Linked DNA regions of Homo sapiens: all the other regions are linked to region 1. Evidence: promoter capture Hi-C in 16 types of primary human blood cells and fetal thymus (Javierre and others, 2016). All regions are on one chromosome and are shown on one strand. The core of a region is centred on a gene start or on the middle of the fragment in contact, and the rest is flanking DNA. Distances in the headings are between cores, read along the strand shown. Region 1 holds the start of KATNAL1 (katanin catalytic subunit A1 like 1). Region 2 has its middle 3.9 kb from the start of SLC7A1. Region 3 holds the start of TEX26-AS1 (TEX26 antisense RNA 1). Region 4 has its middle 16 kb from the start of LINC00545. Region 5 overlaps UBL3 (ubiquitin like 3). Region 6 overlaps UBL3 (ubiquitin like 3).

What was found. The method cuts DNA at HindIII sites, captures the fragments that hold promoters and counts their contacts. A CHiCAGO score of 5 or more calls a contact.
Region 2: a fragment that was not itself captured here is called in contact with the fragment with the promoter of KATNAL1 in region 1 in 1 of 17 cell types (non-activated CD4 T cells); the score reaches 5.3 in non-activated CD4 T cells.
Region 3: the fragment with the promoter of TEX26-AS1 here is called in contact with the fragment with the promoter of KATNAL1 in region 1 in 6 of 17 cell types (M2 macrophages, endothelial precursors, neutrophils and 3 more); the score reaches 10.1 in M2 macrophages.
Region 4: a fragment that was not itself captured here is called in contact with the fragment with the promoter of KATNAL1 in region 1 in 1 of 17 cell types (neutrophils); the score reaches 5.1 in neutrophils.
Region 5: a contact is called between a fragment that was not itself captured here and the fragment with the promoter of KATNAL1 in region 1, in 1 of 17 cell types (naive CD4 T cells). The highest score is 5.0, in naive CD4 T cells.
Region 6: a fragment that was not itself captured here is called in contact with the fragment with the promoter of KATNAL1 in region 1 in 1 of 17 cell types (naive CD4 T cells); the score reaches 7.4 in naive CD4 T cells.

What each region holds. Positions count from the first base shown.
Region 1 is chr13:30,305,873-30,309,551 of GRCh38, reverse strand. It overlaps KATNAL1 (katanin catalytic subunit A1 like 1), which reads left to right and starts at 2,001. Exons shown (of 11, transcript NM_032116.5): 1 at 2,001-2,221. RefSeq lists silencers at 1,997-2,226, 2,257-2,366. The HindIII fragment of the contact is 2,852 bases long and covers 1,311-3,679 here.
Region 2 is chr13:29,597,759-29,601,437 of GRCh38, reverse strand. No RefSeq gene overlaps it. Among named protein-coding and RNA genes, the nearest start is that of SLC7A1, 3.9 kb to the right of the region's middle. The HindIII fragment of the contact is 6,470 bases long and covers 1-3,679 here.
Region 3 is chr13:30,930,541-30,934,219 of GRCh38, reverse strand. It overlaps TEX26-AS1 (TEX26 antisense RNA 1), which reads left to right and starts at 1,612. Exons shown (of 4, transcript NR_038287.1): 1 at 1,612-2,974; 2 at 3,346-3,419. It overlaps TEX26 (testis expressed 26), which reads right to left and starts at 1,564. Exons shown (of 7, transcript NM_152325.3): 1 at 1,444-1,564. The coding sequence starts at 1,504. The HindIII fragment of the contact is 4,425 bases long and covers 1-2,392 here.
Region 4 is chr13:30,864,290-30,867,968 of GRCh38, reverse strand. No RefSeq gene overlaps it. Among named protein-coding and RNA genes, the nearest start is that of LINC00545, 16 kb to the left of the region's middle. RefSeq lists an enhancer at 3,643-3,679. The HindIII fragment of the contact is 6,209 bases long and covers 1-3,679 here.
Region 5 is chr13:29,762,968-29,766,646 of GRCh38, reverse strand. UBL3 (ubiquitin like 3) reads left to right here. Exons shown (of 5, transcript NM_007106.4): 5 at 1-2,276. Among named protein-coding and RNA genes, the nearest start is that of UBL3, 86 kb to the left of the region's middle. The HindIII fragment of the contact is 866 bases long and covers 1,125-1,990 here.
Region 6 is chr13:29,781,216-29,784,894 of GRCh38, reverse strand. All of the region lies in intron 1 of UBL3 (ubiquitin like 3), which reads left to right. Among named protein-coding and RNA genes, the nearest start is that of UBL3, 68 kb to the left of the region's middle. The HindIII fragment of the contact is 554 bases long and covers 1,499-2,052 here.

The DNA of each region.
Region 1 (3,679 bases), core at 752-3,251:
TGTGTAGGGGAACTCCCATTTATAAAGCCATCAGATCTCATGAGACTTATTCACTACCATAAGAACAGTACGGGTGAAACCGCGCCCATGATTCAATTATCCCCACCTGGCCCTGCCCTTGACAGGTGGGAATTATTACAATAAAGTGAGAGGTGGGTGGGGACACAGCCAAACTATATCAACAGGTCATGTACGTAAGCTGCTTAATATTTATTGAGCAGCTACACTGTGGACTGAATCAAATAGAATATGAGGATACATATGTGAAAAAATATTATTTTAATAGCTGGCTCCAGAGTTCCTCTTGGGAAGTTACTTTGTGTAGGAAAAAACTTTGGTAAACAGTTTAGGAATGGCAGGTAGCTATGAAGGCACAGATTAGGAGATGGAAATAAAAGTATTGTATAAAGAGAGGAGAGGAGGGGAGAGATGGGACCAGAAAGATGGTACAATAGTGGGAGGTTACAGGTTATGATGAAAAAATGGGGGTAGGTGGTAGGTGGATAAAAATATCATGGGAGGAACTGAAGGACTTTTAAGAGCAGGGATTTCTAATTTTAGGTTTTTTGCATCCTTAATTTAAAACCACTTATCTGCTCCAAACCTTCTAAAGAGTTGGCTATAGAAACAACCAAAGAAAAGGGGCTGATTTCGAAATTATGTGTCAGCAGGAGTAGAGAGAGGAGAGTTGTAAGAGGTGATATGTGGAGAGGTCTAAGTGTTCAGGAAAAGCAAGAACTGAGAGCCAGAAGTGACGGTGCAATCCTTGAGAGGACATTGGCCGTGGGGAACACCACAAGGTGGATAAGGGACTCAGTCAAGTTCAAGAAAATCTCTGTGGTAGGATGACTCAGCTGGATTACAGGAGCCATTTTTGTTATTTTCAACCATAATTTTTCAGGAGATATTCATTACTAGAAAATGACAAGGTCACGAATTCACTCCCCTTCCTCTTTTTTTCTATTAAATTTCTGGGCCTCAGTTTTCCCATCTATAAAATCTAGAGATTGGGCCTAGAATATCTCTGTAGTTTCCATTAGAGTCTATAGCTCTAATAATAATAACAACACATTTTTATGTTCTCTTTTGAGGTAAATTTACATGCAGTGAAATGTACAAATCTTAAATGTCCCATTCCAAGAGTTTTGACAAGTGCATATACTTCTGTAACCGAAACTCTTAGCTATAGAATTTTTTCATCACTACAAAAAATTCTCTCAAACTCCTCCCCGACAGCCAACCACTATTCTGACTTTTATCACTATTGATTAAATAATTAATATTTAATAGCTATTGTTAAATGCTAAGCTTTGTTTTATAGAGCTTCATCAGTATTAATGCGTGTATTTCTTACAAGAGTTGCAAGATGGATATCTCCATTTTTGCAGATCAAAACGTTAAGAGGTGAGAAAGGCGCCTCTGGTCATCAGCTACCAAGCACAGGGGCAGGACGTGAACTAAGAATTCGTTTTAGAAGCCCACGCTCTTAACCTGTTTATCCTAGAGTCCACAAACGATTGCCAAGAAACAGCATAAATCCAAATTCAGTCGAAAGCAATGCCATTTGCAAATTCTAAAACCTCCTGAATAATCCTAAAGGCCATATGCATTCCATCTTATCGAAGGATTCCCTTCTATCCCCCTCCCCAGAGAATGGAGAAAGGGGGTGCGAAAGACTTCAATTCGGTTTGACTGGAGAAAAACACAGAGGTGGCGTAGGATCCACACATCCCTTGGGGGCAGACCCAGCGGCGGACGCCTGGACAGGCGGCGGGAAAGGCGCTGCGACGCCCCGGGTGCCCCCTCCTTCGACGCCACTGGCATCACCTCCGAAAGCAGCAGGCACGAAGGTGCCCTGCCACGGGGGCTGGACGCAGTGGAGGCAGGCTCATCAAGCACGACCAGAGCTCAGTCGGCCACACGTCCTCCTCAATGTCACTGTCTCCCTGCTCTCCCACCCCGCGCCGCTGCACCTCCCTCCCCCCGGCAACCTGGGCGGGAGTCCCAAGCTCCGCCCCAGAGCGGACTCACAGCCCCCGCGCTCCCTCCCGCGCTGCGCCCACCGCGCGGCCGCGGCTGCCATGGCAACACTACGCCGCCGCCGCCTTTTCACGCACGTCGCGAGCTAACGGACTCGGCGGCGGCGGCGGCGGCGGCCTGCGCCCCACCCGCACCCCATCTGGACCGCATCGCTGAATGTGCCCGGACCTGCGCCTTCTGGGTAATGAATCCGAGAGAAAGGGGCGAGGGCGAGACAGCAGGTGGTGGAGGGCTCTAGCCAACAGCCCCTCTCGGCCTCCCACTGCCGGAGACGCCAGGGCAGTGGGCTGCGGGGTTCCTCGGGCGCTGGCTCCCGTGCGGGGACGGGGAGGGGCGCGGGAGCGCCAGGCTCGCGGTGCATCATGGGAATTGTAGTTCAGCGACTCCTCGGGCTCGCGGTCTTGGTGGGGTAGCTCGGACTGGCGAACTACAAAGCCCGGCGGCCCCGACCGCCGGGAAAGACCGATAAACTTTGAGCGGACCGGGACAGAAAAAAAAATCTCTCTTTGTCTTGAGGGGGCTGTTGAGTGGTCGCGGACCTGGGCTCTGTGCGTTGGGAAAGGGAAGTGGAGGTGAGCCTCGGGCTTCCCGCCCTGTAGCTGGGCCCGCCCCAGTTGCAGCGCTCAGCCCCACCCCGGCTGGGCCACCGCCCTGCACAGTCTCAGGGATGAGCAGCCGCCCAAGCTGCAGGGCCTCGGGTCTTCGGCGCCTCTGACCCTCGCAGGTTGCTGCCTTTCGGTGCAGAACCGTATGTATGTCACACATTGGATGTGAGACCTGAGAAACCGTGTTTTAACAGGTTTTTCTCCTTTCCTGGATACGTTTATTTCTGGGTTAGTCATGTTTGTTTTAAAGTAGCTCAGAGGTGTTTGCATATTAAACCCATCAATTGGTAATTACTCAAAGGGCAGTAATGTTTAAAGGTTAAGTGTGGAAATAGATAAAAAGATGTCATTGCGATTATATGGTGGTATCTGGCATTTTTAACTTTTTGCATTTTTGAATTTTATTTCTTGAGGTTCAAGGTTGTGAAATGAGTGCTCCACCCCACCCCCCCCTTGCCAGCCTGAACACTGCCTACACATATTTTGATTAGTTCAGCTTTAAATTACTAGTAACTTTTAAAAACAGACTTTTTTAGCAGTAGGCAGCAATAATTCTTTGATTATTCCAGTGTTATTCAGAATTTCTCAGCATGTTTTCGGAAGGAAAAATACCATGTTTTAATTATTTAGTTAATTCTTTATATATTTTTTATGTTCAGGAGTACACTTGAGTCCTTAGAGTTGACTCAAAGACTTGCTGGTAAAGGAAGCTGACACAGATTTACGAAACCTTCCTTGACGACCCTTTAAAATTTTTTAATAGGTAGATAACCATCCTAGAAATTTGCTGCTTTATGGAGTAAGTTGGAGAATTGTTGATATTATTGTGAGTTTGTGTGTGTGTGTGTTTAAAAACAAAAAGACCACAAATCCTATAAAACTTTCTCTTAATTAAAATGAAGTTGACCTGTGTAAATTTTACTTGAGGTTGCAATTTTGTACAAGGAGGAGATGGAAAGTAGGTTTAGTAAGACAGGTAGAAAACAAAATTGAGGCCTTATGTGATACAACATAAGGTTTGAAGTATTTTATTT
Region 2 (3,679 bases), core at 434-2,933, 710 kb after region 1:
CACTTTCTATACATAGAACTATGTCAGGTACTTTACATACATATATACATACATTTATTTAATAGAATTTTTAAGAGCAGTTTTAGGTTTACAAAAATATTGAGCAGAAGGTACATAAAGTTTCCATATACCCCCTTCATCACAGCCCTCCCCCACCAGTTTCTCCTGTTATATGAACATCTTGATTAGTGAGGTGCATTCATTACAATTGATGAGTCAATAATGATATATTATTTTTTATTTTTATTTTTTGAGATGGAGTTTCGCTCTTGTCACCCAGGCTGGAGTGCAATGGCACAATCTTGGCTCACTGCAACCTCCGCCTCCCGGGTTCAAGTGATTCTCCTGCCTCAGCCTGCCGAGTAGCTGGGATTACAGGTCCCTGCCACCATGCCTGGTTAATTTTTGTATTTTTAATGCAGACGGGATTTCGCCATGTTGGCCAGGCTAGTCTTGAACTCCTGACCTCAGGTGATCAGCCTTTTGGCTTCCCAAAGTGCTGGGAGTACAGGCATGAGCCAGCGCACCTGGCCAATACTGATACATTATTATTAGCTAAATTTCATAGTTTACATTACAGTTTATTCTTTGTATTGTACGTCCTATGGGTTTTGACAAATGCTGGATGACATGTATCCACCATTACATTATCATACAGAAGTTATACAGTCCTAAAAATCCCCTGTGCCCCACCTATTCATCCTTCCCCTCACAAGCCCCTGGCAATTACTGATCTTTTTACTGTCTCCACTGTTTTGCCTTTTCCAGAACATCATATAGTTGAAATCACATAGTATGTAGCTTTTTCAGATTGGCTCATTTCACTTAGAAACATGTATGTTTCCTCCATGTCCTTTCGTGGCTCAATACATTGTATGGATGTACCACAGTTTGTTCACCTACCTACTGAAGGACAGTTTGATTGCTTCCAAGTTTTGGCAATTATGAACAAAACTGCTATAAATATCGCTGTACAGGTTTTTGTGTGGACATACATTTTCAATGCATTTGGATAAATACCAAGGAGCCTGACTGCTAGATAGTGTGGTGAGACTATGTTTAGTTTTGTAAAAAACTGTCACATTGTCTTCCAAAGTGGCTGTACTGTTTCGCATCCTCACTGGCAATGAATGAGAGTTTGTTGCGCCATATCCTCGCCCGCATTTGATGCTGCCAATGTTTTGGATTTTAGTTATTCAATAGTTGTGTAGTAGTATCTCTTTGCTTTAATCTGCAATTTCTCCGATAGTATATGATGTTAAATATTTTTCCATATGCTTATTTGTTATATGTGTATTGTCTTTGATGAAGGGTCTATTCAGATCTTTTGTCTATTTTTATTTATTTATTTATTTATTTATTTATTTATTTTTGGGACAGCATTTCACTCTTGTCGCCCAGGCTACAGTGCAATGGCGTGCTCTTGGCTCACTGCAACCTCCACCTCCCAGGTTCCAGTGATTCTCCTGTATCAGCCTCCCAAGTAGCTGGGATTACAGGTGCCTGTCATCATGCATGGCTAATTTTTTGTATTTTTATTAAAGACAGGGTTTCACCATGTTGGCCAGGCTGGTCTCAAACTCCTGACCTCAGGTGATCCACCTGTATCGGTCTCCCAAAGTGCTGGGATTCCAGGCGTGAGCCACCGCGCCCTGCTGTGTTTTTAAAGTGAGGTGTTTTCTTATTACTCAGTTTTAAGAGTCCTTTGTGTATTTTGGATACCAGTCCTTTATCAGATATGTATTTTGCAAAGATTTTCTCCCAGCCTGTGGCTTGTCTTTTCATTGCCTTAACATTGTCTTTGCAGACCAGAAGGTTTTAACTTTAATGAAGGCCAACTTGGCAATCATTTCTTTCATAGATAATGCTTTTGCTGTTGTATCTAAAAAGCCATTGGTAGATTTCCTCCTATGTTATCTTCTAAGCATTTTATAGGTTTGTGTTTTACATTTAGGCCTATGATCTGTTTTGAGTTAATTGCTGTGTAAGATGTTAAAGTCTGTGTCTAGATTTATTTTTTGCATGTGGCGGTCCAGGTCCAGTTGTTCCAGGACCATTTGTTGAGGAGACTATCTTGTCTCCATTGACTTGTCTTAGCCACTCTGGATCAGCTATTTGTGTGGGTCTAGGCTACTGTTTGGGTTTCGATGTTTGTGCCCTCCAGACCTCATGTTGAAATTTGATCCCCAATGTTGAAGGTGGAACCTAATGGGAGGTATTTGGTTCACGGGTGTGGATCCTTCATGAAATGTCCTTCCTGGGGGTAGGTGGGACGGGGAGATGAATTTTCACTCTATTAGATGACTCTGGAGCTGGTTATTTAAAGGAACCGGGCCCTTCTCTCCTCTCCCTCTTGCTTATACTCTTGTCATGTGATCTCTGCACACACGCACACTCCCTTTCATCTTTTGCCATGAGTGGAAGCAGCCTGAAGCCCTCTCCACATGCAGATGTCCAATCTTGAACTTTCCAGCCATTAGAATTGTGAGCCAAATAAACCATTTTTTCTTTATAAATTACCCAGACTCGAGTATTCCATTATAGCAATACAAAACAAACTAAGTCTATTTCTGAGCTCTATATTCTGTTCATCTTTATACACATTTTTCATCCTTACCATGAAGTTCGTATGTATCCAGCAGGTAGTAAAATTCTTATTTCGAAAATGAGGAAACTGAGGCACAGAGTGAGCAGGGCCCCTCTCCCCAGGCCAGCAGCTGGTTAGAATTGAAACCCACATCTGCCTGGCTTTGATTCTGTGCACTTTCCTTGCCCCCAAGGTGCCTAATGGTGCTAGAAAGAGACTTAGTATGTCAACCTTAACCTTAGATGTTGCTCTCTAGGGCCTAAATTGTAGCATCTCCCTTTCTTAATGGTTGCTGGAATCTTGGGCAGCTGCTCTTTGATTGTAATCAAGGCTGCCTGTCACTCACGGTTTCTCTGAACCTGTAATGTGAGTCTTGACCTGCCTAAAAACTGGCTTTGCTTAAAACATGTAGCCCTCTTTATCAGCATCCTCTAATGTTTTGCTGAGATCTTGTGCGTAACTATTTTTTCCCTGGTTCATACTGAATCCTTTTTGCTGAGAAGTCACTTGCTCATGGGGCTTGTCTTATTGTCTTTTTGAAGACAGGACCTTGCTGAGTGGGATTGCTAAACGGAGCACAGTGCTAAAAATCTCCTGGGTTAAATGTCACCATACTCCCATCAGGGCCTGGAGCACTTGCTCTCAGAATTTACAAACATTAACTCATGTTGGCGCTCTGTGTTGCCCAAGGAGAGCATCTCTACAATTTATGAAATTCTATTTTACTGCCAGAAGTCAGCAAAGAGAAAAAGAAAGAAAGAGAGGCAGAAAGAGAAAATTCCACAGTCATATTTCAAACACCAAGGGATAGATTTTTTTCTTAAGAATATAAGATTTACAAGCTCCAAACAGGAGTGAAATAGTTTGCAGAAGCTCTCACAGCAAATGAACTGGTAGAGTTCAGATTCAAATCCTGATCTGGTGCCAAGGGCAAAGCAGGTGGTCTTTAATCCTACCAGGCTTCTCTCTGTGAGAAGGGGACATGCTTACTGTGGCCTCAGCAGACAGAGTAGGCTGCGTGGGATCTGGGAGATCTTCTGTGAATGGAAGGCATCATTTCACCACTGTGCAATTGAACTAAGATACATTGTT
Region 3 (3,679 bases), core at 363-2,862, 630 kb before region 1:
AAAAAGAGCTTTGGAGGCAGAATCAAAGAGACCTGGTGATCAAACTGCAGTCTCAAGGAAGCTGCCTTCCCTTCTAAATTGAGCAGCTAGGACCCTCTTAACTGAACTCTCAAAGTCTGGAAGGTTTGAGGAGGACAAGGAGTGTGATTTTGCACATGTCAAGTTGGAGGCCCTGCTGTGACACCCACATGGAACTGTCTGGTAGACAGTTAGATATTCTGGTCTGAAAAAGTAGGAAGAAAGTCCAAGTCAGAGATAAAGGTTAGAGAGTTGTTGGCACCTTTATGCAGCACTTGAAGCCCTGTGCAGGATATGGTCACAAAGAGAAGGTAAGCCTAGAAGGATCAATCCTGGGGGACTCCAACAGTTCCCAGACAAGAAGGGGATGAAATGGGGAGACAGTGGGAAAACAGGGTGGTTAGAAAGGGAAGAGAAGCATCCAAAGGGGTGCTGTCGGGATGCTAGGAGGGGATCCTCCCTCCTCTGTCTCTCCTGTTTGCCTTCCCATCATATAGAAACTGAGTGTATTAGATATTTTCTGCACTAATTAAGTATTTTCATTTTCCATTCTTAATTTACAACGGAATGAATTGGAATGAAAATATGCATTTCATTCACTCTTTTGGGAGCACAATTCTAGGGAATTTGTACTTGAACAATCCTTCACTGCTCCATAGCCACTGTGGAATCACAGTTACCCAACTATACAGCAGCAATGGCCAATTATTGCCACAAGAGACTATGATGGAGCTGACTACACGGTAATCATGCCACTAGCGTCACAGCTAGAGTGGTTCTCCCTCCACAGACCCAAAAGGCTGAACTGGTGAACCTGCTGCATCTGTGGGCAGAATTAGGATGAAAAGCACTACCTCTGTGAAATACAAAATCTCTGTGGAAGAAAAATCAATTCAGGTTAGAGGCGGCAGCTGAAGGCCATGGCTCCCAGCCTGGTGCGACAGCCCAGGGAGGGCGTCTGCCTCTGCAGACACAGCTGGGACTCCATTCAGCAGCCAACCCTTCCCCCACTTTCCTTGCTGTTTCCAAGATCCTATATGGGGATCGGGACTCAGGCAGGACCTGTTCTCTTCAGAGCTTCCAGGACTTCTCTTTCTTCTTTGCCTTTGGCCCTGTTTTCCTTGGAAAATCACCAGTTCTTCCTTTTTTCCTGTCCCCTCTTAGCCAGGCACTTCCTCGAGTGTTTAAAAACCCTGCGCGTTTTAGGGAGCGGGGATTTGGCAAAGGTTATGCGAAGGACTGAAAAGGGGCAGCGTCATGAAGGCCCTGTCATTCTCCCTGACTCCCCGTCTTTTCCTCAGTTGAGCATACTCCTAAGAGCGATGCCACACCCTTAAATACTAAGGCCCCTTTTTCTCAACAGGACCCTTTCCCCGGGAAAGACCCCAGCCCCGCCCCGCAGACCGGCAGAGTCTGCTGTCTTACTTGGCTGGAGGTTGTGGTGGCAGAGAGAGGGATCCGGAGCCCTGGGCCCAGGCTGTTCCATTCTGCCCCAGGAGGCGGCCGCGGGGCCCTGGCTCCAGCTATCTCAGCGCTTGCGGGAGCCGCGGGCTGCTTTGTGACGCGTCGCCATGGAGACAAGGATCGGGTTCCAGGGAGTTCTGCCCCTGCCAAGGGGTGCTGGCCACGCAGGAGGCTTAACCTGGCCGGCGCGGGAATGGGGTGCAGAGAGCAAAGAAATGTGGCTTTGATCTTATGGATGCCTTACTTTTACATTATTTGTACAGTTCTTGCAGTGAGCTTTCCGGACCACTGTCTTGTATGTTTCCTAAGAAAAGCAAAAAGGGAAGAGATTGAAGAGAAAGTAGATTTTCAACTACAAACTTTCATCCATTTGCTTTCAGCTTAAGCAAATGTGCGCAAAGTTGTCATGGATTTTTGCAGTCAATAAAAACCAAGCAAGAAGACTGAATCCCAAGTCATCTGGTATAAATGGAAGCAGTTTCTGTGATAGTTCCACGCGGTCAGAAGGGTCATCCTGGCTTAGGAGAGGGGCAGAAGAGGAAATGCACGCGTGGAAACAGGAGTGGGCAGGGAGGATGTGACACTGTCCTCCTCACCAGGCCACGTTCCTGGCACCAACCATAGTGTTTGTGAGGGTCAATTTAATTGTTCTTGTGCTCTCATAGAGGAAGCTGTGTCTTTCATCCCCTTGTAAGAGTTTTCACTGATGAAGGGGGTCTTTTATCTTCATATCTTGGGAACTACTGAAACTGTTTCAAAGAGTCAAAGACACCAATAACTAACAGAAATTCTTGTTTTCAGGGGCAGATAAGAAAAGAAACAATTTGCTGAAACTCCCTCTGCTTATAACAAAACTGACTGAAATCAGCCGGAATCAATATGGCCAAATGCAGTTTGCGCACAGCAAGCTTGCTGATGTCACAGCCTGAATTTCTACTGCATGTTTCATACCAACTCCCTCCAAATTTGCACATGGGACCCACCAGGAAGCATGAAGAGAGAGCCATGCATGCCTGAAGACTTCCCAGATGTTCCCTTTGCTTCCACCAATCACCTGCTAACCCCAGGATCCAACCCTAAACCTTTTGTAATAAAATTACTGCCCTAAAGCCAGTACAAGACAGATTTGAACTGGACTTTTGTTTCCTCAGAAGTTAACTTGCAATGTGAAGCTTTCCTTTTCTCAAAAACTTGGTGTCATAGTGTTGGCTTCTAGTGCAGTGAGCCCCTTTTGCTGGATAACCTTACCTGGTAATTTGACATACTAGGTGGTTAGTAACTACTGACTGTCTCCAGGTTACAACACAGTTATTACCCACTTGGGTGAAAAGAGAAGACAGGAAATACATTTTGGAGTTGGCTGGCAACCTGTTTACAAAGCAATTTACAACAGTTCCTTATTCTTAAGGGGCTATTCTAATACAAGACCTCAGAGAAACAGTGCAGTGTGACAAAGGAGGAATTTATCAAAGGAGACAGAAAAAGCATCAAGGTAAGGATCCCAAATATATGTGCAAGGAATGTCTTTAAAATGAAGAGCTAAACTAGAATTTCCTGAAGGTAGAGTTCTATCCATATAATGGAATGAATATAACACATTATAAACTCTCATGTTTTGAAGCAATGGAGGGTGGAACACATTAGAAGGCATAGATGTTATTAAAAGGAATGAGTCTAAATTAGGATTTAGTAGTGGCATCTAAATTTAAAAAGTAGCACCCAATAACAGATTACTGTCTGGAAATGGTAGAGCTAATTAGCATAGCATAATTTAAGAGAAATATATGTTTAAAATAGAGCAGCAAGTATATAGAATTTTGAAAGTGAATTCTTATTAATATCTTACAATTTGTCTCATTTTAGGCAAGCTGTGAAATGGTGCGGTAGGAACCAAATAGAGAGCCAAAGGATCTTTCTGTCACTGCAGGCCCTTAGGGGTAAGCAAATCCTTCCCTGATCCCTGGTCTCCTTATCTGTAAATGAGAATACCAGCACCCACCTCACTGTGCTGTAAACATGATGAGTTCTAACAATAATTTATAAATTGTAAAATCACACAAATCTAAGATATTGCTCTTGTTGCTATTCTGATCTTCATTCCTTTTATAGTCTTTCTACTTCAAAGTGTATTTTTGCGTGGGTCCATTTTATGGCTAGCGGTATAGCACTATTCCTGCCTTTGAATTCTGGTTGCCTG
Region 4 (3,679 bases), core at 875-3,374, 560 kb before region 1:
ATCATTTAAGAGGTTTCCTTCTGTTCAGTGCCAACTGAGTTTAAAATTCCCGTGTGAGTTATGATTATCATTTCCATTGATTCATTTCCATTGATTGAGAATAAAAAGAAGTGGTTTATGTTGCAGCATGAAAGATCTAAATTAGAATTTTTAAAAAAAACCTTCTAGATCTGGAGAGCTGATAGATTTTTCATTTCCTTGCTAAGGGAGTCTATGCAAGCTCTCTCTGGAAATCCTTTGAAATGGCTTAGAGACCTGATGTAGCTAGAATGAGTTTGGAGGAATCCAACATGAAGGTAGCCCAATACTAGGTTGCAAACAGGCTAGATGCTTTTGGGTTTGTAGACATGTTTGATTTGGAACTCCCAGTGTTTTACATGAAAATCCCAAATTCTGGCTTCTTTTGAAAAACCAGTTGATATGACAACCCAAGCCTTTCTGCCCCAGTTGGCCACAGTCCATGCTGGAGCAGGGTCAGCCTGCCTCCTTGGACAGGGCCGGCACACTCCACTTGGCCTCAGCCCCTCCAGCCAGCTTACCTACTGATGTTACCTTCCTGGGCTCTTTAGGCATATGAATTAGTGACCTCAGATGACACTGGTAGGGTCAACCTTTCAAACGTGCACCTTTCCACTTAGCCAAAATCTGAGCTATGCCAGACATTTTGTTAGATAGCATCAGAGCACGGACTAGAAGCTGAATTGCTCTTGCAGTGAAAGGACTGATTCCCACACTCCTATTTTATCCCTACATGAAAACATGGCAAAATCAACTTTCCTTCTTGCTTACCTTCTAGGAAAATCAGAAGTATTCACCAGGTGTTGAAATAGAAACTTATTTCTTATAATTGCCAACTTTGCTGCACTGAGTCACATGTTGATTTCTACCTAATGAAAAATCCAGAGCAGGCTGGAGTCTGACAGATAGAGCCCGATTCGCTATTTACTCTGGTGCTAATCACAATCATGTTTACAGGAAAATGCCCTCATCTGCTTCCAGCAGCTCCAGCCACTCAGCCATGTGAGCGCTGTCTTCAAAGTCAATTGCCTGTCATTTTGCTGATTTATGTTGAGCAACTGCAAGGACCCCTCGAGGTATTTGTAGCTAGCTTGATGATTCCCAGCTTATAAAGTGGCAGTGGGCAGAGCATTTCAGTTCAAATTCCCATCAAGACAGAATTTAAATCCCCAGCCCTGCTGCTCATATTTGCAATGTGAGCACTTTAGATAAGCAGAAACCATCAAACCCTAAATGCTGGGGGAAATACAACCTGGATTTCTTCAAATGGAGCCTAAGCCCAAATCTTCTTTCAGACCTTGGATAGGAAAGTGATTCTAACAGTTTTTAAAAGAGTGATCACATATGCTTTTTCCCAAGAAGTATTAACGACTGAGGCAAGACGGGCACTATCAGATTAGATTGGAGAAGCCGGGAAACGAATTTCCCTCACCGCCTGCCTGGATTCTTAACGTTTCAACCAGCAGAATCTAATTTCTTTGGAATTACTTGCCCTCTAACAGAAGTTTTCTTTTTAAAATGAAAATATTGCCGAAAAGGGAGACCTATTAAATTACTAACCCATTAGCTTCTGGTTTAGCTTCAATCTTAGAGAAGCCCAATTCCTTCTAAACCTGTCTCGCCCTACACTGAAAGTGCTGGAGGTGCAGATCTCAGTGCACTGGCCTTGGCTGCTGAGATTCAGGGAGGTTAGATGGCGGGTAGAGTCACCCATGCGCTGTGGGATGGGGGTCCCTTCCATGCACTCTCCTGGCAAGTCCTGAACCACCAAAGGTGTAAGTGGATGTATTTTTCAGGTTCTCCCTTACAGCACTTTGAAGTCAAACACAAGATTTAAGGATTGCTCACAGCCTGCATTTTCTGTATTTCTGCATTTCTTGTTCACTCAACGTCTCAGGTATTTAATTACATACTCACTGTTAGGGCTCAGGGAAGCTGTTTAGAGGTTCAGCTCAGCCCCTTCGGGTCACAAAACTGAAATACAGTGACTTCCCCAAAGTCAGCAAAGCTCAAGGATCCTTAAGAACCCAGACATGTGAGATACTGAGTAATCCAAACTGAGGCCAACTCCAAAAAAGGGCTCCATTGACTCATCTTTCGGTCATCTCGCTCCAGCTCTCACTTAGAGAAAGTGCGTATTTCTTCCATTTAGAAAAGACTGCTCACGCTTTCCATGTCATTACATTTCTTTATTCCTCTCTTTATATTCCAGCTGCCTTTCTTCGTGTTTTTTGTCACTTGCCCTATTTAGCCATCTCCAAACTAGCTACCTGCCTCCGTGCCATGGAGCATGCTTTTCTGCAGCTCGGCCTCACGATTCTAGGCCAGCTTTTGCACCCCCTACCCCCTCCATGCTTATAAAACTGGGTTCCCTGCTCCCTTTCTGTGTGCTGTTATGCTTCAGAAGCGCCACTGGGTGGCAGTGTCTCAGAGCAGTCCTGGGCCCTGCAACGTGGCTTTGGGCTGGGCTGCTGGTTGCTTGTCTGTTACAGCACAAACAGGCCTGTGTGGACAGGCAGAGCAACGAGACAGCCACAGTGGTGCTCTGGAAAGGATGAGTATTAGATATTAAGGAAACGAGGGACAGAGGTCTGCGTACTGTGTCCTTTCGGAGCTTGCACTAGCCACAAGGCTGACATCTGCCGTCATTCTAACAAAGGAATCTCAAATCCTGAGGCTGTTTGGGAGGTGTCCTTGAAAAGAATGACTATAACCCTTTGCCCTCCCTGTTTTGATTTTCAGCCTACCATTGGGCCCTGATTCATCCATAAAAACAACAACCAAAAAATAAAAAAAAAAGGCAATCCCCGTGAGCATTGTGTGTTTGCTGGACAGGATAGTAATGGCTTAATCCTTCTAATGGCTTTGGTCACTGCAGGATATTAGCTATTAGAAGGGTCTGTTTAAAAGGGGGTGGTGGGGGAAGGTAGGGCCATCTGCTGATTATAGCATGCATGAGGAATGAAGGGAACATTTAAAGAGACACCGTCCATTGATTTAGACACAAATAATTAGTTTGTAGTTGAAAAGGCATATTTAGGGCTTGAATTTTAGTATCTGAATCATTTGCTTAAAGTGCAAATGTGATGTCTCAGACTGGAGATGATCCCAGGAACTATTTGATTCCACCTTTCATGCTTTTTGTAAAGAACTTCTCCGGAGACTAAAAGGAATGTGGCCTGAAATGCATCAACATTGACGTCATGGCTTGGAGTCTGTGGAAGTCAAACCAAATGTTTTTATTATAAACAGGTCAGCCCAGGACCAAACTGTGAAGTACATGTTTGATTTCCATGTGTCCCACCCCCAGCCCCAGCCTTGGCCTCTGCACAGAAAATAGTTCCCAACATCCCACCAGGTGGCCCAGCCCCCTCCTCACTGACTCCCCACTTCACCTTCCCTTCCAGGCCTGACAGCAAACTAAAGCAAAAGAAATCTTCCCAAGGATCGTGGCATATTAGGAAATGAATGCACGCTCTCCATTCAGGAAAGCTGGGGGCAGGCCAACCTCACCTCCCAAACGGGAAAAGCCTAGACTAGAGGTGAGCAGAGACCTGGCTTCCCCTCTAGGCCAGGCCCTGGGTCCATAGGCAACAACTGTTCTGGGAAGTGGGAATTTTATACAGCAATTCAATGAGAAGGAAGATGTGGAGGGATGTAT
Region 5 (3,679 bases), core at 308-2,807, 540 kb after region 1:
TGAAAAAACAAAATGTGCCTGTTTAAAGCACTCAGTAGAGGGCTGATGAAACTAATTTTTTTTCCTTTAAGACATGCACTCTTGAGTCCTACAGTAACTGAGTGTTTGTTTAGACAGCACAAGAAGGGGTGAGAGTGCGTCTCCTAGCCTTAATGTGGGAGGGTAGTTTCAGTCACTCATCGGCTTTCATTATTGTGCAGAAATATTAGAAAACCTCATTGATCAATTTTATGTATTTGAATATCAGCAAATTGAAATTTTCCATAATTATCATTAATTTGTAACCACATCCAGTGTCATGCTTACTCCTTAGAGTTCAGATGAATTCTTAAAATTAAAAAAAAACTCCATAGTACTAATTTTGTTTCTTTATATAGTTTGCGTTTGATATTAGTGCTTGCAATTGTATTAAAGTCAAAAGCTGATTTTTATGGCATACACAAGAATGCCACTTTTTCTTTTATTTCATACCAATAATTTAAAGATTGATATGCTAAAAACAATTTGCACAGCACTAAAGCATGAGCTACTTTCATCTAAACCTGTAAAAATATGAAAGATTTTTATATTTTTTCACTGGGAAGAAATTCTTCCTGGATGAAATTACAAATATGTGTAGAATATATTTAATAAAAGACTTATAAAATACCTAACTACAGGACTTAAAATATAGATTGGCGCGTAGTATACAGAACAATATTCCATATAAATAAGTTTAGCCTTTATAAAAATGAAGTTGCAGGCTGACATTACATTCTGTACTAAGTGTCAACAGCCCTTACAAACATTAAATGTAAATGGTTTCAAATGGTCAGCGTTGTTTAAATGTAATCATGTTATTTTATTCATTGTTAATGCTTTGATGAAAAGGCTTTATATGCAGTAGATCTACGAAAATATTGTTCATACTGATCAGAATTAAATTTGTATAGAGCAGAGTTTTAAAATGAATGTAAATAGCACTAAACGTTTTCTTTCTGCAACCTGTACTTACAGATTCTTCCTGTAAACTAAATAAAAAAAAAATGATAGTGCATTTTGGTGGTAATTTTAAAGGTCTTGATTAGGTCAATAATTGTTTAAGCACCGTCTCATTCATGTTTTCTACTTTCATTTCTTAAGCTTTTAAAATTCATTTAATTAATATTCTGTTGTTGTTTTGGGGAGTATTCCCAATGTATCTTTGATATTTAACCTGGTTAATTTGTGGACAGTCACAACAATGGATAGAATTATGTAGTCTCCGTTATCACTAAAATGTTATCTTCAAGAGATGTTAAATATTTATATGCTTTGTTGACTAGCTGAAATGTGAATTCTGTTAGTGTTGACTAAAGAATCTGGTAGTTGCTTAATTGGGCAATTAAACAATTTATGGCTCTATTTTGTAAAACAAACTACTGGTAATTATTTTTAATACCTATTTTCATTCTGATTACTCTTTTTTTAAGTTAAAGACTATCAGTTAATTAAGATTGAGTTTTTATGATGGTTAAAAATAATTCTCTATTGGTTTTTCAATATATTTTTCTGTGTGTTCTCAGATTATATATTTCCCTCAATTTAGAGTTTGCTAAGTGAAATAAACTGGTTCACTAGTAGAGAAAGAATTACGTCGCTTAATACCTAATATCATAGTTGTACAATATGAAAAAAAAGAATAAAAAGTAGCAGTAAAATTATATACTGAAAACACCAAAAATTTAGATGCCTTAATAGTATATACGTGAAATACTCAGCTGTCCCTTTAAAAATAATTCCTTGGACTGCCTGGTGGTTAAAATACGATTCCTCATATCCAAGGCTACTTTTGAAGATCCCTCTGCCAAAAATATAGCTCACTTATCTAAAGGTGAGAGCTGCATAGATCCAGTAATGTACATAAAGCCTGAATGATGAGCCTATGTCCCTGCCTAACGCTGGTGTCTCACTCATCTCTTTTACCTAAATTGTCCTGAACTTTGTTAAGTGTTCTGGACAAGGCCAAGCTTTTCTTTATTAAAACCTCAGCATGTCTCCCTGATCTGAACTATTTGCTTTCTCTTCAAGATAAGTTGTATTTTACCATGGAAAAATACAGTATCTAACATTACCATTCACGTTAAATGAAGTTTCCTCATAACATTTATCTTTAGTTTTATGAAGTCATCGTGACCAATGTTACAGTAATTTCTGTTAGCTGATTGTGGTAAACAATGTTTAATGTGAAAAGAAATTAAAACTTTCTTCATCTGTTGTAGAATATTTCTCTTCTTTAAAATGGCTTCTATTCATAATTCTGGTGTATTTGCCTATTCTTTATTTCACTACTGTTTATGTCTTTTTTTCTTTCTTCAGTTAATGATACTCTTCAGTAAAAATCAACATTGAGCCAGCCTTTGCTATAGTTTAGCAAAATCAAAGGGAAGTATCAGCCAAAATTTAATATGCCTTCATACCGTTTTTATTTGTAACTTTTTCGAGCATTCCAGTTTGTTTTCCATTTTTGTGTTATAATATGGTCACTTGTTAGCCAAATGGAGTGATTGGGGTGGAGTGATTGGGGTGGGGGAGAAGGCACATGACCTATAATTACAAACACAGCTATAATTGAAACACAGCTGCAGGCTGTGCTGGAGTCTAGGCACAGTTTTTGTGGCCAGGGTAGGGTGGGGTTCTTGGGTGTGAGCAGTGGTAGTTGGGTGTGACTCCTGGCTTACCCTGACCCCCTGCCAGTTGGTGTGTTTCCTTCAGAAGGCAGTGGCTTCTATGAGGCTTTTACACAGGAGGTGGTTGACTTCTGAAAGAGATCATGGATAGAACTAAATGAGAAACACTTAGTTCTTAAATATCAGAGTTTAAAGCAGTACTGAAATGTGAAAACCAATTTCACTTACTACATTATTTTATAGTCTTCGACAGTGATGTCAGATGTTTGTCTTTTAATATTTTTCATATTCCTCTTTTTCAAAATGACAGCTTTCAAGAAATATGGAGTAGGCATAGTAAATTCCCATTTGGGGAAAGGAAATGCCCATCTCTTCCACGTGAGTCAACCAATAAAAAAGGAGTTGGGTAAACACATTTTCTAAAATGGCTCTGGAAGTGGTTTGTTGTTAGAAGTCTTAGAAGAGTCTGGCTGGTTTTAGAATGTAGTAATTACACATTCAAACATTATTTGGTATCTTTTATTTTCTACACATGTTCTTGAAGCTTATTTGATGTAAGGGAAGTCTTACAATGAAGTGGGAGAAACTTTGCTATAGTTAAATAATACAAGGAGGCAGCAGAACCTGGAGGGGAACCGGGACAAGCCGCAGCAGAGTGGGACCCTCAGAATTCTTGTAGGAACATACAGGAAGACATCTGGGAGTTGGCCAGTTCTCAGTTGTCTGCCAGACGAGATAGTTTTTCTTCTTCCCTGCATGCTGGAACCTGTTTCCCCTTATGTCCTTCCTTACCACATGGTTTTCCGTGGGCATCACTCACCTGGGTTCCATTAGGGTGCCACTCCCCCAGTGTTTCTCAGGAGCATTTTTTTTTAAGTCTGATAATTTTAACACATCTACATTTTGACTGATGCTGTTCGTCAGTCCTCAGAGTTCAGAAAACCACAAGAATAGCTGGGCTTTGGAGTCAAGCCTGACTTTGTTCTGGGTGATTTTGAAGAAGTTACTTAATATCTGAGCTTCAGTTTTTT
Region 6 (3,679 bases), core at 526-3,025, 520 kb after region 1:
GACTTTATTAATATTTGTCCAGTTTTATATGCATTTATTTGTGTGTGTGTGTGTGCATGTGTGTATGTGTTTAGTTCTATGCAGTTTTATCACAAATAGATTCCTGTACCAACTACTACAGCCAAGATACAGGACAGTTCCATCACAAGGATTCTTTGTGCTACCCTTTTATAGGCAAAGTAACCCTTCCTGTCTCCCCTTCCAGCTGGCCATTCTCCATCTCTATAATTTTGTCATTTCAAGAATATTGTATAAGTGGGATCATATAGTATGTTACCTTTTAAGCATAATTCCCTTGATATAAGTCGGGAGTTGTTTTTTTTTTTTTCCAAAGATTTGCAAAAAGGGTCTAATACCTTTCCCACTGGCTACCTGCTGCTTGTTGCCATTTAGCAAAGAAGGCAGGAATGAGCAGTAGAAAGGCAAAGGGTGCTTCTGTTGATGGTTTTCCCTAAGGAAGACTGGCATGTGAAGTAAGAGTATCCCAATACTCATTTTATTCTTAAGAGATTCTCAGAGGAGAAGTGGGAATTCTTTTTCTGATCAACGTATTTGTCTTTTGGTAGAAAACAGCCTTTTTAAAGGGCATGGTCCATCTCTGTAATTATATTTTATATCCAAAGACCATTCTAGTCAGTTCCATCTTCCATCCTCCCTCTTTCTTTCCCGTCATTTTTTTCCATCCTGACCAACTAAAAACATATTATTTTATAAACTAAGTTCTATATGTAATTTCCCCAAATTGATACTATCTAACAAATAGAAATGGCAGTTTGACTAAAAATGGTTCTAACTTGAAATTACATGCATTGAAGAGTTCTTGTTGTATCCATTGGCCTTACAGGAAATCATCATGGTAGTTCTGCCTCACTAATAGTCTTGTCTGATTTGTTTTGTCTCAAAAGTAAATATAAAAAATATATAATTCATTTGAATGATCTAAATGCCATCTCTTAGGAACTTTACTACATAATAGCTCTCATACCAAGTCAGAGTCCTTATTACCAGTTTTCTTTTAGACAGGTATGTACACAAAGTATATAACATTTTAAGCTGTAAATAAGTCTTATTTTTAACCCATTATTGATGTGTCAAGGATCCCATTACCCTACAAGCAGAGGTTTTTAAATGTATTTTATACTTAGACTTAGCTTGGCTTCAAAGAAGTAAAAAGGCCTTTCACTAATAAATATTTAAGTAATAAGTACTTAATATTTTAAAGGAACAAGCTCACATTTATAGAAATTGTCATACATTTACTGAGAGGAGCTACAATTAACATTATTTATCTGAATAAGCCCTGGAAGATTCTTATTATAGCATAGGAACAATTAACTAATAACCAGCCCGGTATCCAGTTATCTGCGTGATTGCTTTCAAGATTTCTTCTAAAGGAAATTATGGGAATCCAGTGTTTTTCTCCATCTTTCTTACAGTCCTAAGGTATACTTGACAAGCATACTGAGGCAGATTCATGGCTCTAGTCTAGTAGCAAGCTTGTCTCATAGATATAAGCATAGGCCCAATTAAGACCAATCTGTTAATTGTCTATATCTATTAACCTAGTCCGTTTGAAAAGTAGACCCAAATGTATACGTTAATACGGTAACTTAGAATTAATTTTACTTTTCAAAATACCTGACTAAATGATAGCATTTATGTTAACTCTGGCATGTTGCTGACAGTAAAGATCCAGAGCCCAAAACAAATTAAAGATTGAGGTGTTCACGCATTTGAACTATCTGCATGACCACAGCACTACCAAGAAACAATTATTATCCATTCCTGTTCTACATACTATGCCACTCATTCAATACAATGCCAGAATGCTGAAGCCTAGGTTTGAATCAGCTCTGACCTTTCTAGTCTGCACTTTCAGTTGCATCTTAAAACTGAAAAAACAGAAATATTAGTCAACAGTTACTGGCTGAGCACCTACTACTATGTGCCAAACACTGATCCAGGCACTGGATGTTTCAGGCAAGAGTTACTTTACTCAGCAGTGCAGTGCTGTGGGTTTATTGTTGCTCTTTTCAATTTTGGACATAAGCTTCTTTCCTGAAGCAGTTTTGCTATAAGACTTGATAAATTTTTAGACTTATGTATTTACACAGTTACTGTTGCAGTTGTCATTTTCTCCCCCTTCCCCACCCAGAAGGGTGATTAGGTTTCCTCTGAGTAGAAGATTTTAAAATCTTAACCTGCTTTTTGTTCTCATTTTATACTTCCAAACTACTTTCAAACTCTACTGTGAGTTAACAAACTCAAATGTTTTCTGGAACTAGGCAGTTTCCTGAGTGTCTGAAGCAGGCCAGGGGGAGTAAGGAGGGAGTAGTAGGGTCTGTGTCAAACCGAAGATTCATACCCACCTATAAACATTAAAATAATATTTTTTAAATTTGGTTCAAACATATTTAGAGGCTATGAGTTTCCAACATTCTGAACATCTAGATAAATATGAACTCTTTAGACCATTGATTTTTGAAATATGAAAGTGTAATATCAGTTTATTGGCAACTGTGATGTGTGTTAGTTTTAAATTAGGAAATGCTGAGAATTTTGTGGCAGGAACCCAGTTAAATTTATGGAGTACAGTATGTGTGTCTTGTTTTGTCTTGTTTTGGTTTGGTTTGGTTTTCCTCTCACAAGCTTTTAAGCTTGTGAGTGGAAAAAAAGAGATTGGGAATGTTCAAAGATAATTGAACATTATCTAGAACATCTAGAACAAGGACATCTAGAACAGAAGGTCTTAGGTTCAATGAATAGTCTTCAAAGGATCCATGAATATCTTATAACTTTATTTTTAAATGTTGTATTTCTATATTTCTGTGCTTAATGTTTTCTATAAAAAGTAGGCTTTGTTGATTTATGTTTATTTTATTTTTTTTTTTAGAGATGGGGTCTCATTCTGTCACCCAGGCTGGAGTGCAATGGCATGATCATTGCACTGTATCCCCACAGCCTCGAACTCTGGGTGCAAGTAATCCTCCTGCCTCAGCCTCCAGAGTAGCTAGTACTATAGGCATGTGCCACCACACCTGGCTTTTTTTTTTTTTTTTTTTTTTTAATTTTTTGTAGAGACAGGGTCGCAATTTGTTGCCTAGGCTGGTCTCAAACTCCTGGCCTCAAGCTGTCCTCCTGCTTCAGTCTCCCAAAGTGCTGAGATTACAGCCGTGAGCTACTGCACCTGGCCAACTTCATTTTTTAGAGCAGTTCTAGGTTCACAGCAAAATTGAGAAGGTGGCAGAGATTTCCCATTTACATTTTTCCCCCATGCATGCACGGCCTCCCCTATTATCAGCGTTCCCCCACCAGAGCGGTATTTATTACAATTGATATGCTTATTTGTCTACTTAAGAAAATCATTTATATTTCTTTGAAAGCCCATACCGATACAGTACTTGATAGCGTTAACTTTTTAAAATATTAATAGTTTATTAGGAATATCCTGAAATGATTGAGTACTCTTTGAATTAAATGTTACTCTATTTTAAAAGTAATACAGACTTAATGTGAAAATTAGAAAATGCAGGAATACATGAAGAAACTAAAGATGAAATAAGGACTGTTATATTTGGTACATATCCTTCAAGACTTTAGTTTGTACATATATATGTGTGAGATATACACATCCATGCTATTGAAATATAACCAGAGTTCTGCTTTGTATTTTAGGGTT